Linked DNA regions of Homo sapiens: region 2 is linked to region 1. Evidence: promoter capture Hi-C in human tissues and cell types (Jung and others, 2019). All regions are on one chromosome and are shown on one strand. The core of a region is centred on a gene start or on the middle of the fragment in contact, and the rest is flanking DNA. Distances in the headings are between cores, read along the strand shown. Region 1 holds the start of SKIDA1 (SKI/DACH domain containing 1). Region 2 has its middle 95 kb from the start of NEBL-AS1.

Region 1 (4,772 bases), core at 1,830-4,329:
GGGAATGAAGGAGTAGAAAATGGCTAAATTGAGAAACAAATGATAACTTAGTATATTTCCTTTAATTTTTTTTCTTTCTGGTTCATTTGAACAAATCAGGGTAAGTCTCCAAAAGGGCCCATCCCTCTGTTCTTAGGCATTTAAAAACCCTGTCTTTAACAGAAGTTTGGGACACAGGGTATATGCCATGTTGTCTACTGACCCATAATCAAAATGCAGTGACCTTCTACCCTTTTTTTGCCCCCTGACCCATCTTGAATTCAATGCAGCCTTTATAAATTTGCAAATCCTTGGAGGTAAAGGGGTTTTTGTGAGGCTTTGTTCTGAAAAAGCCCTAAGAGTGTGCTTTCTAAATTAGACAAAGGTAAAGCAACAAATCCTAGTGGATGAGATTTTACACAGGTGAGCAATAGGCACCTCCAGATAACATATATTGCAAGCTAAAAACCAGTTATAAACATAGGAGACAAGGAGGTTATAGATTGCATCAAATTAGAGTGAGGTACAAATCACTTTCATGATGTAAGAAACGGCTAGGCCACAATCTTCCTGCTCTTCTCATCTCAAGGGCTGTGGGGGACCCTAGTGACCAAGGAAGGAATGGGGTGGGGGGAAGGGGGCAGGGAGGAAAAGAAAGGAGTGAGACTTGATCTGAATCTGTGGGCACATTCCCTTATCTTTCCTGCTATCAGCCAGTTTAAAGGACACCATAATTATGATGGTGATAAAACAATGCCTGCTTATGTGTGCTGAATAAATAAAGAATGTTTACAGCTCAAGAATCTTTTAATTCCAATTAAATGCTATCAAAGAAAAGCCACTTTTCCTACTGCAACCGCCTTTCCCCCCAATTATCTTGTTTTGTTGTAATATTTTCCTATGAGACACATGGGCCTTTCACAATTGATCCTGAATGCAAAAGAAAAAAAATCAGAGAAAGTAGAGTTTGACCTTCAGATATTAAATAATACACAAATATCCAGAACCACAATTTGTTAGGGTTGCCCAAGTTTTTGTTTATTTTACACAAGGGCCAAACATATAGAGACTGAAGTGGTGACACCAAGTGTTGAGGCCTACCTATGGGCTGCTCAGCCATACTGAAATCCTGAGCCACCACGAGGGGAGAGAGGAGAGACAAGACATGAGGAGCCTGATGGTCTCTGGAAAGGGAATCCTCTTCTGGTTCTGTTCCCCTGGCTTCAGCCCAAATCCTTCTGGGAGCACTGGAGCCAATCACTGTCTTTCACTGCTGCAGCTACTGGGAACCTACAAAAAAGCGGGAGATAAAAAAAAAAAAAAAAAAATCACAAGTTCGAATTTATGGATACACAAGTATCATTTCATATTCATGACATCAGCAAATCACATCATAATCAGATTTGAGCAAGGTTTGGACACTAAGACCCAAAAGACTGGACACTCAACACTGACAGTATCACATATTAACCAGAAAATTCGCTTTTTTGTTATGGAATCATAGGGTGAAAATTAAGTCTTTTAACTTTGAAAAGCTTACTTTTCACTTCTGAGGCCAATTTTTACACTAATAAATTTCAAGTAAACGTCTCTTTTAAAGTTGTTCCACAACATTTTAATTCAAACTTCTATTTCCTTTCTCAGTTGGGGTAGTGTTTTGTTTGTGTTTTAAAAAAACACATGGCACAACAAACGTTATGGAAAACGCACTCATTCCGTTAAATGCCGATACAAACCTGCCTTTTACTACATCTGTCTAAGCAGCGCATTGCTAAGTATAAACTTAAAAAAATTTTTTTTTCTCAAAGACATATCTATTATTTCTTGGCAAATACTATTTGGTGATGTGGTGCAAAAACACAATGGTAAAAAATTTCGGGGTATTTGTAAGTTTTCTGGAGAGTTGCAGGCCCCTTTCCTTTTGAAAGTTTAGAGCTCCAATACCCTCAATTCTACTGGCAGAATTAGGATGGACTTAGAGGGTCCTAAACGTGACCGATTCACTAAGGCGGGGGGGGGGGGGGGCTACAGCTTGCAGCAACGTGCTCTGCAACTTAATCCTACGCTAAAAGAGGGCAGAGAGCGAAAAAGAATGGAATACAAACTCTCCCGACATCCGTAGTTACTTTCAAGGTGGATTGTGTATTTTAAGGCTGATGGGAACGTCTGGTTTGTGGAGCAAAAAGAAGAGAAGGTAAGTGTTTGTCCTTGTATCCACCAGTTCGTAGAGAAACAATGAAAGAACAAAGGGAACCACTTCCCCATCTGAACATTTTCTGTATCTCCCTCCGTTTCAAGCCAAAAAGCTTGGGAAGGGATTCGCTTTACTCTACCTTAAGTAGTGGTTGCTGGCTTGTTGAACTAAGAATGAGAAAAAAGTTGAGAGGCAGATATAGACTAAATAATAATAAAAAAGGCTTGCTGTGGCGGATCTCCACCGCGCCAGTGTCAGCAACTTGCAGCAGAAGTTGCTCAATGCACGGAGGCAAAGCCCAAGAAATACCCTTTGCACACCAGATTTCGAACTCAGTCATTTAAATAGACTTTCTTGCTGTTTGAAGGGGTTTCTGCGCACAAAATGTGTAGGTAGTGGCTATGGGAGAGATGTACTATTTAGGTCGAAAAATGATCTCATGGCTATCTGGAAAAGAATTTTTAAAAAGGAAAGGGGATTCAAGTATCACGTTACTGTTTGCTAATAGAAGAAATGGCAGCACTGGCTGGGAAAGGAGAGGGATTCGTATTGAAATGCATTTGCTTTGGGGTACGCTGGTTATCCGCAAGTCTGGCTTTGTGGGTCTGCGTGGCTGAATAAGTGACCAAGTGCCTTCGGCATTATATAAACGGATCGATGTGTGCGGGAGTCCCCAAAGCCGTCGAGCACGTGAAACGCGACTTTTTACTGCCCTCCAAGCGGCGACCAAGCCCCGCTCCACCCCACCCCGCCTCAAAATCCGTATATTACCTGCCCTGTTACAGTGACACATGTTTATGTTTATAGTCCTGGTTTGTAGTAGTGTCAAGAACCGCAGCAAGAGGAAGGGGAGGAGAGAGGAGAGGGAGGAGTAAATTCAACCACCCCCACTTGTTGTTAAAGCAAATTTACTGCGTTATTGCAAGCTCAGGACGGGGGGCTGGGATGAGAGTTGAGAGGAAGGGTTGAGTTGGGAAGTGTGTTGGCGGTGGAAGGTGGGGGTGGGGTTAAGAGCTCCGCAATGGAGCTCCTCTCCCCAGCAGCCCAGGAAAAGCAGCTCGGTCAATAGGGGAGCATGCTGGCGCGGTCGAAAACAAAAAGGTTCCTCCTGCTCGCTGCGTTCACGTGGGGGGCTCTGCACGCGGGGCTCCAGGGCCGTGACCCCTGACCCCGGCTCCTCTCCGCGCTCTCCGGTGCCGCGCGGCCACTTTTTACCCAGGATCCCTCGCGCGGGCCGCGCTCGTGCCGAGCTGGAGTCCTTCCTAATCCTCCATTCCCGGCTCTCGCTCCCCGCCCCCGCCGCCAGCCCCGGGGGAGGATTCTCCGGCGGGGAACCCCCGCCCCACCCCCACCCCGACTGCCCCGGCGGAGTCGGCCGCAGCGAGTCCGCGCGGGGCGGGGAGGGCCGGGCCGGGCCTCCCCTACCGCGCCGGGCCTGCGAGGGAGGGGAGGGACGGGGAGCCGAGGGGAGGGGGCGCCGGCCTCCCGGCTCAGCTGCCCCACTGAGGCCTGGACCTGTTGACTGCGATTGGCCCGCCTCATCCCGCGCCCTCTCTCTGCTCGCAGCGGCCCCAGCCCTTCCGCGGCGTCGCGGGGAGGAAATGGGGATGGCTGTCCTCCTCTCCGCCTCCTTCTAACTTTCCTTTTTTTATTTGGGTGTGTTGGGGGGGGTGCTGAGAAAGCCCAGGCAACTCCACCGCCGCCCCATCCTGCCTCCGAAAGTCTCGTCACGCCCGACCCGCCGCCGCCCTCCCAGCCCCCATGACTTAAAACCGCCTCCCCTCCTCGCAGCGGCGCCCCGGCCCGGAGCCCGAGAGCCCTCGACGCCCCCGCCGCGCCTCCCCCGCCTGGCCTGGCCCAGCGGCGTCCCCAGCGAATTGTGTCGCTTTTCTGCCCTGGAAGCTCCCTCGGCCACGTTCCACTTTTTTTCCCAGTCCCAGGAGGCGTAAGATAAAACCTCTGATTTGCTGCGTGCTGCCGGGCACATTCTCTGCCCTCTCGTCCGAAGGACGAGTTTAAAATGGAGAGTTTAAAATAATAGCATTTACAGGAGGAAATAAAGAGCGAGGAGATGGTTCTTTGGCCGGTTTTAAGACATACATGCTTTTTTTTTCTTTTAATACAAGATGTCTTAAGGGTTAAAAGCGTTCTAGGGTTTGCTGTATTTCCTTCTAGATTTGGGGTTTCCTGAGGAAATCTTTTCCGGAGGGAAATAGCAAATCAACATTAAGATGGAAGCGAGACTTCTCAGCCACTTTTGGAAATGAAGGGGGAAATTGTAAAAATACATTCAGAAAAGGGCGCGAAGGCGGCGGCTGAGGGGAAGAAGCTGGAGTCTTGGGAGGAAGCGCAGTGGGTTGGAATCGGGGGAAGGAGGGCCCGCTAGGTCCGGGCGGGGAAGAAGGCGTGCGGGCGGCGGGGCGTGCGCCGGGCCGGGCAGCTGGAGGAAGGCGCGGCGGGACTGGCGAGCGCGAAGAGGCAGGCGGGGAAGGCCTCGGGGGGCGGGGGCCGGGCGCGGGGCCGGCGCGCCGGAGGAAGCGGGACCTGGCTCCTCGCGCCCGCCGGGCCGCCCCCATTGTTCTGCCCTAGCACCGCTGTT
Region 2 (5,198 bases), core at 2,104-4,603, 450 kb before region 1:
AACCCCATCTCTACTAAAAATACAAAAAAATTAGCCAGGCATGGTGGTGCACACCTGTAATCCCAGCTACTCAGAAGGCTGAGGCAGGAGAATCGCTTGAACCTGAGAGGCAGAGGTTGCAGTGAGCCGAGATCGTGCCACTGCACTCCAGTCTGGGCAACAGAGAGAGACTCAGTTTCAAAAAAAAAAAAAAAAAAAAAAAAAAAAAAGAATTACCACACAACCCAACAATTCTACTTGTGGGCATATAACCAAAAAAAAACTAAAGTGGGAACTCAAGCAAATATTTATACATCCATGGTCATAGCAGCGTTGACCACAACAGATAAAAGGCAGAAGCAACCCACGTGTCCATCAATGAATGAATCAGAAAACAGAATGTGATATACACATATGATCAGCTACTATTCAACCTTAAAAAGGAAAGAAATTCTGATGCATACTACAACATGGATGAAACTTGAGGACATTATAATTGAAATCAGCCAGTCACAAAAGGACAAATACTTATATGAGCCCACTTATATTTGGCCCTAGAGTAGTCAAATTCATAGAGACAGAAACTAGGCAAAGGACTTGAATGGATATTTCTCCAAAGAAGATAGACAAATGGCCAGAGACAGAAAGTAAGATGACGGAGGGGGAAATGGGGGGTTAGTGTTTCATGGATGTGGAGTTTCAGTTGGGGAAGACGAAAAAGTTCTAGAAACATACATTTGCACAAAAATGTGAATATACATACTGCCACTGAACTGTCCACTTAAAAATTGTTAAAATGGTAACCTTTATGTTACGTATATCTTACCACAATTTAAAAATATGTTTAAAAATAGCCACCCAAGTCCAGAAATGACCTACAATATAATATTATACTCAAAATTAAGGTAAGTTATTGGGGTCTATCTTGGTTTTTATTCTGAACAGTACTTAAAACTCATGCTTAATCTACTTTTCTTCAAAAAAAATAAAAAATCAAAGGAATTGGGGGAAGAAAAGCTTTGTTCCTCACTCCCTTATATTTATTATGGAGCAAGGTACATTTTAAATTGCTTTTGCTGGCCGGGCGCAGTGGCTCACGCCTGTAATCCCAGCACTTTGGAAGGCTGAAGCGGGTGGGTCACAAGGTCAGGAGATAGAGACCATCCTGGCTAACAACATGGTGAAACCCCATCTCTACTAAAAGTACAAAAAATTAGCCAGGCATGGTGGCAGGTGCCTGTAGTCCCAGCTACTCGGGAGGCTGAGGCAGGAGAATGGCGTGAACCTGGGAGGTGGAGCTTGCAGTGAGCCGAGATGGCACCACTGCACTCCAGCCTGGGCGACAGAGCAAGACTTCATCTCAAAAAAAATAAAAATAAAAATAAATAAATAAATAAATAAATTGCTTTTGTTATTTGTCATTTTTGTAGTTAGAATTCAGCTGATGGTCTGTTGGTTCCTGATATCTTTTTCCCTTCTTCATTTTCTGTCCTCCCTTCCATCTCATTCATAAATCCCCTAGCACTTGCCCCTACCTCCCACACACCTAGGAAGTGGGAGGAAATCTCTCTACCCTGGGGTCAACATTGTCAGGCACAGCAGAACTGATAGACCTTTCAACAGCCCGAGCTATGGGCTTCCCACACTATTCATGACCACGAGAAAGTACTTTAGCTCTTAGAAAAGCAACACTACAAGAGCCACCATATCAAGTCCGATGGATACTGCAGAGCTGGCTGTCACAGGGACACTGAGACACCTTCCAGAGCACGGATTGACTCTCAATACCAGATTATTCTGAAAGCTGGGTTGTGTGCAGAATGGACGGGAGGAGGAGATTGGAAGATGGAAATGCATTCTATGGGGGATCGAAAATAAAAATAATGGGGAAAGCAACAATCAAAGCTGGAAGCTTACCTCAAATTAGTCCTAAAATGAACACAGCAGCATGAGTACAAAATAGACTCTTTCTAATGACAAACAAATGGACCAGAATGAAATGGATTTTTCTGTATCCTAAAAATCTTGGTATTTTGTGTTATTTACAAGGTGTTTAACAGCCAGTAGAATGTATTCTTTTTAAAGTAATAAGCCTTTCAAATTATTACAACGAACACTTTTATGATCAGAAAAAGAAATACTCTAAATAAAAAACAAAAAGGTTACAGACTGTAATAATATAAATGGTTTCCTCTCCTAAATAGAGTCGTGTATGTTGTCTATGCTGTTTGCCATCGTGTACAGTATTTGTCATCCTGAGTTTCACTCCTGGTTAATACACTTTGGAAATCTTCTTGAATCCCAACACACACAGCCCCCATCCCTCAGTTTTTATAAATGACCTGTATACACGTATGCAGAGGTATCTACTCCTATGACCTGCTCATTTGAGTGGGACTTTAAAGGTTTTGATTGTTTAATAAAGAAAAATCATGTATCCAAGCTCTACAACATGCCAGAAGAAGGTATGTCTACAAGATCATTCTCTCTATATCCACCCTAGGAAAATATACTTGATCTTATTTTTAGAAAGAAAAAGAGTAAGAGACAGAGATATTTGGGCAAAGCACTAGAAGTTGCAGTCTTAGTGTTTCAACTTGCTTATTAGCTGGCTGCCACTTGGTGGCACTGTTGATTCCAGTTTGCTCCCAGATCCAGGGGATGAGTGTATCCACTGATCCAACCTTAATAAGCACGTGCGGCTCCTGCCCCATGAAGAACTTCATTAAGCCCTGACAGCCTTTATAGAAACATCAGAATGTCTGTATTTCTACCACCTCCAGATCTAAATGACAAATGGCACAGCAAATGCCCTCCTCTTAGGACTTTCCCTAGCTTTTCCTCCAAAGGAGATATCCAACCTTTCCTTCCAGGTGTCTGTCTCAGCCTCTCTCTCTCGGAAACCTTCTCTATTAACTATAGCCAGAGCCTCCCATGGGACATGGCAAATCTGGGAAAGTGTCCTGGGTGCATCCTGGTGGAGGGGATAACAGGGCAAGACCAGAAAAAGAAAGAAAATGAGGAGGTGAAGAGGCAGTAGTACCACCATCTTGAGATTTTAAAAAAATACAAGATAAAATGCAGGGAGCACAAATCTTTGGTAGGCTCTCATTTCTGTGATTTATTTGGCAGGTGCTTTCATCTAAACCTCCCAGCACACCTGTGTGAGGACCTTGTTTTGGAAGTGAGAAAACTCAGGCTCACAGGGCTTAAGTAACTTGCTCAAGAGTGGGCACACAGAATTTGTGGATCCAGGACTGGAGCTTCAACCTTTTCTCCAAGTTGGCAACACCACACAGCCTTCAGAGGGCTTTATAAAAATAGGGCTCCCAGTATAAACATAGGGAGGCTCAACAACTTCTCACCCAAATAGAAGGACAAAAGTGGGCAGCTTCCCTCTCAATAAGATCTATGGTTCTCATCTTCACCTATCTGCCCCGTAAACACACAGATTGAGCTGCATATTCCTTTATTTATTTTTCCTCCTTTGAGATGGCCAAGGCTGTTAATTTTCAAAAGATCGCAGTTATAGAAACATTTGGAGGAAGGACGTGCACAGACATATAAGATCATTATTTGTTCTTTGTACTCTGCCCCACCACCCAAGGTAGCTCCACCTCTGTCCTACATTGAACTCTCCTTTTTCATATAATAAAAGAAAATCACTAGAAGCCTTGAACAATGACCAATATAGAATCCTCAGAGAGGGGCGGAGTATAGATACTGTATATCAATAAGTCTTACGCTATTGCTTTGAACAGCATGTATTATGATCCTTTCCTGGTAAGAAGAGAATTCTATGATGTCTCAGCTAACTCAGAACATAAATCTTCACAGGTGAACTGTAAAGCATAGAGAGACGGTTCTGGTGGCTGTGATTTTGTAATAAGCACATAATTTATAATGCATATAAAATATGGCTGACCATAAAGTAATGAAAGCGATTTCTTAACAGCACAACACATAGATACAACAAAAGCATGTCATCACTTTCTAAATAGATACTTTGGATATGATATCCATATTCTGTGATCTTGAGACTGCTCAAAACTCTGTGAAAATTCCTCTTTTGATATTGCATTCCGTGCATGAGACATATATTTTTGACTCTTCTCAATTGTGGTAAATATTCATACTTTGAGGGCGAATTTCATTTTTGGGAACAGCTGAGTCATTTGGGACTAACTCTGGCATATAAGCTGGAGAAAATTGAATCAAAGACAAGATTCATTCATTGAATAATTCAACAACTATTCTGTTGGATGCTGTACAATATGAAGTTAGCCTTGGATCTTAGGGTCTCACAGACTAGAGGGGAAGATAAGCATATACATAAATCATTGTAATAAAAATAATTTTCCCACAGAGATTTATGCAGCTCTGGTTGCTTTTAACTAGGACTACAATGGAAAAGAAGCAAGGCTGGGTTTCTGGATTGGGCTTGGAAAGTGGTTCTAAAAACAGATCTAGAAGGAGGTGTCCAACCTGTTTGAGTAAATGCAACTTTGATGGAATGATTATATACCCTCCCAACAGTGCTAATTCTGGCTTATTCAGATATTGATATTCTGGTAGGTGTCATTTTTAAAATGTGATCTGGTTTTTTTGTTTGTTTGTTTTTTGTTTTTTGAGATGGAGTATCACTCTCGCCCAGGCTGGAGTGTGATGGCACAATCTCAGCTCACTGTTAACCTCTGCCTCCTGGGTTCAAGCCATTCTCCTGCCTCAGCCTCCCAAGTAGCTGGGTCTACAGGCATGCACCACCACGCCTAGCTAATTTTTGTATTTTTAGTACAAACAGTATTTCACCATGTTGGCCAGGCTGGTCTCGAACTCCTGACCTCAAGTGATCCACCCACCTCGACCTCCCAAAGTGCTGGGAATACAGGCATGAGCCACCACACCTGGCTGATCTGGTATTATTTAATAGTCACATTCCAACCCCAACAAACTGCAATCATGACTTGATAATCAAATGATGCAAAAATTTTCCACTGTGTTTTTCTAAGCTGGCCTAAAATCAATGGGGCCACCATTTGAGTTGTGGGGAGCTCCAGCAGCTGGCACAGGATGACAAAGGCTTTCATGGGAAGCAGGGGAAAGGCAGTCAGCCATGGGGATGTGAGGCTTGTTATGCACAGGAGGGTTGATCAAATAAGTAAACACATAGAAAAAACCAGGAGCCAGGTTTCTCATCATGGCTCCTAGTGGGAAAACTG

What was found. The method cuts DNA at HindIII sites, captures the fragments that hold promoters and counts their contacts. A contact is called where the count stands out against the background at its distance.
Region 2: a fragment that was not itself captured here is called in contact with the fragment with the promoter of SKIDA1 in region 1 in 1 of the 25 tissues and cell types used here (dorsolateral prefrontal cortex).

What each region holds. Positions count from the first base shown.
Region 1 is chr10:21,522,603-21,527,374 of GRCh38, forward strand. SKIDA1 (SKI/DACH domain containing 1) reads right to left here and starts at 3,080. Exons shown (of 4, transcript NM_207371.4): 1 at 2,945-3,080; 2 at 1,081-1,269. RefSeq lists enhancers at 2,472-3,115, 3,116-3,759 and silencers at 3,415-3,834, 3,955-4,104, 4,550-4,669, 4,680-4,772. The HindIII fragment of the contact is 2,515 bases long and covers 1,900-4,414 here.
Region 2 is chr10:21,076,266-21,081,463 of GRCh38, forward strand. It overlaps a transcript of NEBL not described here. Among named protein-coding and RNA genes, the nearest start is that of NEBL-AS1, 95 kb to the right of the region's middle. The HindIII fragment of the contact is 3,820 bases long and covers 1,444-5,198 here.